Linked DNA regions of Homo sapiens: region 1 is linked to region 2. Evidence: promoter capture Hi-C in 16 types of primary human blood cells and fetal thymus (Javierre and others, 2016). All regions are on one chromosome and are shown on one strand. The core of a region is centred on a gene start or on the middle of the fragment in contact, and the rest is flanking DNA. Distances in the headings are between cores, read along the strand shown.

What was found. The method cuts DNA at HindIII sites, captures the fragments that hold promoters and counts their contacts. A CHiCAGO score of 5 or more calls a contact.
Region 1: a fragment that was not itself captured here is called in contact with the fragment with the promoter of COPS3 in region 2 in 1 of 17 cell types (naive CD4 T cells); the score reaches 6.8 in naive CD4 T cells.

Annotation. Positions count from the first base shown.
Region 1 is chr17:17,141,424-17,144,854 of GRCh38, reverse strand. MPRIP (myosin phosphatase Rho interacting protein) reads right to left here. Exons shown (of 24, transcript NM_001364716.4): 8 at 2,090-2,228; 9 at 1,186-1,299. Among named protein-coding and RNA genes, the nearest start is that of PLD6, 63 kb to the left of the region's middle. RefSeq lists enhancers at 1,810-2,351, 2,352-2,894. The HindIII fragment of the contact is 3,518 bases long and covers 1-3,424 here.
Region 2 is chr17:17,279,942-17,283,250 of GRCh38, reverse strand. It overlaps COPS3 (COP9 signalosome subunit 3), which reads left to right and starts at 2,005. Exons shown (of 12, transcript NM_003653.4): 1 at 2,005-2,119. The coding sequence starts at 2,065. RefSeq lists enhancers at 1,808-1,907, 2,558-2,617 and a silencer at 2,128-2,367. The HindIII fragment of the contact is 7,073 bases long and covers 1-3,309 here.

The sequences.
Region 1 (3,431 bases), core at 416-2,915, 140 kb after region 2:
GAGACGGAGTCTCGCTCTGTCGCCAGGCCGGAGTGCAGTGGCGCGATCTCAGCTCACTGCAACCTCCGCCTCCCGGGTTCAAGCGATTCTCCTGCCTCAGCCTCTCAAATAGCTGGGACTACAGGAGCGCGACACCACACCCAGCTAATTTTTGTATTTTTAGTAGAGTCAGTGTTTCACCATGTTGGTCAGGATGGTCTCGATCTCTTGACCTCGTGATCTGCCCACCTCGGCCTCCCAAAGTGCTTGGATTACAGACGTGAGCCACCGTGCCCGGCCTAGCTTGCAGATCTTTAACAAAAACTCGTAATTTCCATATCATGGTTGTGCCATTGAAGCCAAGCCTGCAATCTGACCCCAATGGCAAGGCCTATGCAGGTGGGTTCCCTGCTGGTGTTCTCTGTTGGGGAAGGCGCTCCCAGCTAAGTTAACAGAGAAACAAGGAGTTTTGTTCAAGACACCTGAAGCAAAACCCAGACTGAAGGAAAAACCCAAACCTTACTCCTCCTCACACTCCATGTTACACATCAATCTGTGGTTGGCAGCCCCCAAGCCCTGGGGCAGGCCGGAGGCCCATGGTGAGCTGCTGTGCAGGCAGCAAGGAGGAGACAAGAGGCAGTGAGCAGGCCCCAGGCTCCCCTGGAGGCTGAAGACAGAGCGGGTAGGAGCTGGGTCAGCATGCTGAGTTGGCCTTGCTCCTGTACCCTGACCACTCCTTCCGCACCTCTGTTGTCATAGCTCTGAGGCCCATGGAGAACCTGGTGCAAGGCCTGCTCTTCCACTTGAGGCATGACACGGAGAACGAGACAAGCTCCAGCAAGACGTGGCCTCTGCCTCCGAAGTGCCACAAAAAGCAATGCCCAAAGCCAGAGGAGCGGAGGGTCCCTGCTGCAGCCCTGCCGCCTAGAGTCGGGAGTCTGCCTAGCCCGAGGTGGCCTCCTCCGCAGGGCCTCCTCCCAGAGCTCAGGATGCCATGGAGCCCTTGGTTCTGCTGGGACCAGAAAAGGGAAGAAACAGAATCTGTGTTCGACGGCCTGTGGGTCGGTGGGTGGGGGTGCTCACGGACACGAGGGCCTGTGCACAGAGGGACAGCTGGCATGGACGCATAGACAGAAACAGACAGCGCCTCAGAGTGACCAGAAGCAGAGGAGCACGGCCTCCGGAGGACGCGGCGCCTGGGCTCACCGTCACGGAGGGCTCCGTGGACCTCCTGTCCAGTGACTTGGCTCTTCGGTGTGGAGACAGGGGGGAAGCCGAGGCGTCTGGGAGAGGAGCTGGGGGGGCTTCATTGGTGAAGTCCTGTGGCAGAGAGCAGCCGCTGGTCAGTGCAGCCCAGGGCAATGTGGGCATGTGAGGGACGAGCTGGTGCTGTCCACCCCTCCAAGAGCCGCCAGGGCCTTGCTCCTGGCGAGGGGCAGTGATCTGCCTAGCCACCATAGCAAGTCTGCAGCAGGGCCAGGACAGGACCCGGGTCCTGAGATGCCCTGGTTGATAGAGCAGCCTTTTCTTTTGGATTCCCAGTCACTGTCACTTTCCTGGCCCCACCCCATCCTCCAGCTTCTCTGGGTCACAGAAGGAAGAGCCCTGGGCTCTGTGGTGGCAGGTGGCAAGCTGTGGGCCAGACAGTAGGCACTAGGCACCTTGTGAACAAGAGAGAAGCCAGGAGAAGATGAGCTTAGACTTGGCCGGCTACAAAAGCAGCAGGCGGGTGCCCAGGAGGATTTCAGAAGCCGAGTCTACCTTGGGCTGAGTGGAGAAACGAGGGGTGTAGTTGTACTGAAAGAAAGAGTTAGGAAGGTGTGACATTCAGCCTTGTTGCTGGGCTGTCTCAGATAGGAAGAGAGTGATCCTAATTAAATCTGGGATCTAAAATGCATGAGAATATCCTTCAGCAGAGACGGAGAAGGCTCTGATATGAAGCTGCAGGAGACAGGCCTGCTCTCAAGAAGTCACTATGCAGAGGAGGTGGTTGGAGAGAAGCCTGGCAGGAGCACATCCCAGGCCTGTGTGGAGGGGACTTGGCGCATGGGGTGCATGCTGACCCGCCCCCGAGCCACCCCTGAGGTGCTGCCCAGCCCCAGGAGCTCACCCGCTTCCTAGGGAACGCCCTCTTCTCGCTGCGGCCCTGGCGTGTGTCGCTGGATGGTGAGGGCCCCACTGCATTGGTCTCCATGTGCTCTGCCTTCTCAATGTCCAAGGCCTCAAACTTTTCAATCACCTGGGACCTCCTGCAAGAGAGGACACGAGGCCCTGAGGTGGCAGTGAGGTGAGCTGTGAGGTGGCAGTGAGCCGACTCCTCCCATGCCCGGCCTGGCCCGGGCCTGATTCCCCTCAGGCTTGCACAGCACCGAGGTTGTCTAGACACGTGCTCAGCTGACCCGAGCTCTGCCTGCACCCCTCCACGGCCCTCCCTCCCATCAGGCCTGCGCTTGCCCCTACCCTCTGCCCCCGCGCTAGAGGCCCTGCAGGCTCTGTGGTGCTGACCCACTCGGCATTCACACAGCTTGGCACCCGGCAGCCTCTCCTGAGCCACAGACATGATCAAAAGGCAACCACCACCACGGAAGGCAGCCTCCATTCTCATTGCATCCCTCATGGATCACAGTGCACCCCCCACCCCAAAATTTAGCAAGGAAGAGGCCCAGGAATTAACATTGTTTCTGCCAACAGTAAAAGGAATCAAAGACCAAATTAAAACAAAAACAAAGCAGGCTGATTTCATGTGAAAGGGCTGGCGGCCTCCTCAGGCTGTCTACGGCCGGAGACGGAGCTTAGATGGGGGCGAAGCGGGTGGAGGAGGCGCAGCGCCACCCAGCGGCACAGCAGGAGAGCGCAGAGGCAAGACCTGAAAGAAAACAAGGCTGGGAAATGAATACATGGAAGAGCGCTGCTTTTTCAAATCAAATAATGGTGAACCAAAATTATCCAAAGAATTAAAGAAGCAAAAACCCAAGGTAATCACTGAAGAGGGAGAGAGACCATGATTGTCCTCCAGCTGCAAGAAGTCACCCTGGTGGGGTCAGAGGTGGGGGACGCACCAGCTGAGGCTCAGCTCACAGGGCCGGGCCTGTTCTCCCAGGGGCACCTAAGTTACCTGGCGGGGAGGGTGTCACTGCTGCTCTGGACAAGAGGATAAGAACCCAGAGGAAGTGGGTGAAGGGCTCCCAAGCCTGGAAGCCTAATTATCTCCACAAGGAAGAGAGGAAACAAGATCAATTCCTGAGACCCCACCTCCCCCAAGAGGCCAGCTGCTTCTCAGGGAGTGCGAGGGAAAACTGGCTGCCTAAGGCGTCTTCACCCCCGGAGAGAGGAGGGCGAGGGCCCCGGGCTCTGCTTCCTCCCTGCGCTTAGACACAAAGTGTCTTCCTCAGCTCAGCTTCCTCCCTGTGCTTAGACACAAAGTGTCTTCCTCAGGAAAGAAGCTTGTGCCG
Region 2 (3,309 bases), core at 756-3,255:
CCTGTTTCTCCCAAGCCAGGTCAATCTCCTCTGTGACATGATTTTATAGAACCATGTTCCATTCCTTCAGACCACTAACTCCTTTTATCTAGGGTCTTCATGTGTTGTCTGCAGGAGAGAAGGACCGAAACTGTTTTGTTTTGTTTTGTTTTGTTTGAGTCAGATTCTTGCTCTGTCGCCCATGCTGGAGTGCAGTGGTGCCATCTCGGCTCACTGCAACCTCCACTTCCCGGGTTCAAGAGGTTTTCCCATCTCAGCCTCCCGAGTAGTTGGGACTACAGGTACCCATCACCAAGCCCAGCTAATTTTTGTAGTATTTTTAGTAGAGATGGCTTTTCACCATGTTGGCCAGGCTGGTGTCCAACCCCTGACCTCAAGTGATCCACTTGCTTCAGTCTCCCAAAGTGCTGGATTACAAGCGTGAGAGACTGCACCAGGCCCCAAGACTGTTTTTACTACCACTGTATTTCTAGTGCCTGGTACAACACATTGTAAGTGTCAGTAAACATATGTTGGATAAAATTTTAAAATGCATGTTTATTTTCTCAGTCCCTACTATGCAGCAAATCCTATGCTGGGCCCTAAAGGGGAACCAAGGTTAGTAAGAGAAATGCTTGACCTTAAGGAACTCCATGCCAGTTAGAAGCAATGGATCCGTAAACCAAAAGTATCTGAGACCAGTCTCAATCGAGAAAGTTTATATTGCCAAGGTGAAGGATGCGATGATAACACGGCCTCAGGAGCTCCTCAGGACATGTGCCCAAGGTGCGGGTACAGTTTGGTTTTATACATTTTAGGGAGACATGAGTCATCGATCAATACATGTAAGATGTACGTTGGTTAGGATCGGAAAGACGGGCTAACTCGGGGCAGTGGGGGGCTTCTACCTTATAGGTAGACTTAAAGATTTTTTGATTGGTAATTGGTTGAAAGAGTTATTATCTAAAGACCTGGAAGTAAATAGAAAGAAATATCTGGGTTATGATTATAAGGGGTTGTGGAGACCAAGGTTTTATCATGCAGATGAGGCTTCCAGGTAGCCTGCTATTCAGACAGAATAGATTGTAAATATTTCTTATCAGTCTTGAGTCTACCAGTCTTAAGGTCTCTGTGTTGATGTTTGTGAGGCATGTCTGACTACCACTTCCCATCATGGCCTGAACTAGTTTTTCAGGATAAATTGGAATGTCCTTGGCTTCAGATAGGGTCCACCAGTCAGTTGGGGGGCTTAGACTTTTATTTTTGGTTTACAGATATCACATGGACTATAGAGACACATTTCTGTAACAGAGTAGAAGTGCAACATGAGAAGAACAAAGTGCTTTAGGCGACAAGCGGAGGAGGGAGACATCAATCCCAGATGGGAAAAATCAATTCACTTTCTGTGTGTGGTGTTACTTATTTATTTATTTTTTGCAGGGAAGGGATCGATTCATTCAACGTACACCTTGAATGAATAACTATAGTTCTCCCTACGTCCTATGCACTGTCCTAAGTGTTTTACGTGGTTAAGGACACTAAGATTTTACAGATGGGGAAAACAATGCACACGACAGTCAAGTGACCCGCTCAACGTCACACAGCTACTAAGTGGTAGAAAAGGCAGTTGAACCCAGGCTGCTTGGCTCCAGAGTCTAATATCACGGGGAAAACCTCACGGGAGACGTGGCAACGAAGTTGTGCTTCATTGAAGTATCTGTCCAGGTGGAAAACCGCAGGGCCTCTCTAGCAAAATCCAGAACCAGAAAATACTTGCTTAATTATGAGTTTCCTTCCTTCTTTTGCCCACTATCCCCATTTAACCTGCGGAGGGATTTCAGAAGTGCAGTGAATAAAGATGCAGGGGACTATGGAACACTAATTTCCGGCTACGGCGAATTCAGGCTGTTTCCATGGAAACAGTAACGGGTGGGCAGCTAGGTATAGTCTCGCGGTGCTTGAACCAGCGGAAGTGACGTCGCCGCTCGCGAGGACCTCAGGTGGATCGCCGCGGCCCCTCCTCCCAGAGCGGCAGCCTTTTCCCGCGCGTGCTGCCTTCGCCGCTCGGGCCGCCCGGGGGAAAACATGGCGTCTGCCCTGGAGCAGTTCGTGAACAGTGTCCGACAGCTCTCAGCTCAAGGTAACGCCCTAGGCCGCCGGGCTGGGCATGGGCGGGTACCGGGAACTGGCCTGGATCCCCAGGCGCCAGCACGGACGGCTGGAACAGCCCTTTTAGTCCTGAGACTCTTCTCCGGGGCCGGGCTTGGGGTTGCGGCGTTTAGATCAGGGCAGGATCGAGCGCGGCCGAGTGTAGGCAGCCCCCTCGCGCTCCGCTGTCCTCGCCGGCCGGCCTCCCCTCCCTCGGGCCGCCGGGAGCCCCCTCCCCCCGGCCTGGGCCCCTTCCACCGGGCGCTTTGCTTGACAGTTTGGGGGCGTGACTTCCGCCAGGAGCCATCTCGGGCGACTATTGGTTCCTTCTGTCTCTCTTGCCTTCGGTGATTGGCGCACCGCCATGTCATCTTTGCCGCCGATCCGCAGCTTGCTGACTAGGCCGCCGGGAGCGGGCGGGAGGCGAGTCCGTTCTGGGTGTCTTGGCTCTATGGCTCGCCTCTGCCAGCTCCTCCGCTGCCAGGCGGCGCACGCTCGGGAACCTGTGCGCCTATTTTGGTCCTACAGAATGCTGCGGAAGCTCTCGCTCGTAGGACTCCATTTCTTCTTCTTTGTTTTTTTTTAGCCGAGGCTGGAGTGCAGTGGCGCGATCTCGGCTCACTGCAACCTCAGCCTCCCGGCTTCAAGCGATTCTCCTGTCTCAGCCTCCCGAGTAGCTGAGATTACAGGCGCCCGCCAGCTCACACGGCTTTTTTTTTTTTTGAGACGGAGTCTCACTGTCTCCCAGGCTGGAGTGCAGTGGCGCGGTCTCGGCTCACCTCAACCTTCGCCTTCGAGGTTCAAGCGATTCTCCTGTCTCAGCCTCCCGAGTAGCTGGGATTACAGGCGCCTGCCCGGCTAATTTTTGTATTTTTAGTAGAGACAGGGTTTCACCATGTTGGCCTGGCTGGTCTCGAACCTTGATCTCAGGTGATCCACTGGCCTCGGCCTCCCAAAGTGCTGGGATTACAGGCATGAGCCACCGCGGCCAGCCCACGCGGCTAATTTTTTCGTATTTTTAATAGAGATGGGGTTTTTACCATGTTGGCCAAGCTGGTTTCGAACTCCTCACCTGAAGTGATCCGCCCACCTCGGCCTCCCAAAGTGCTAGGATTACAGGCGTGAGCCACTGCGCCCGGCCAGGACTCCATTTCTAGGGGTAGAATTGTGATGATTTTACTC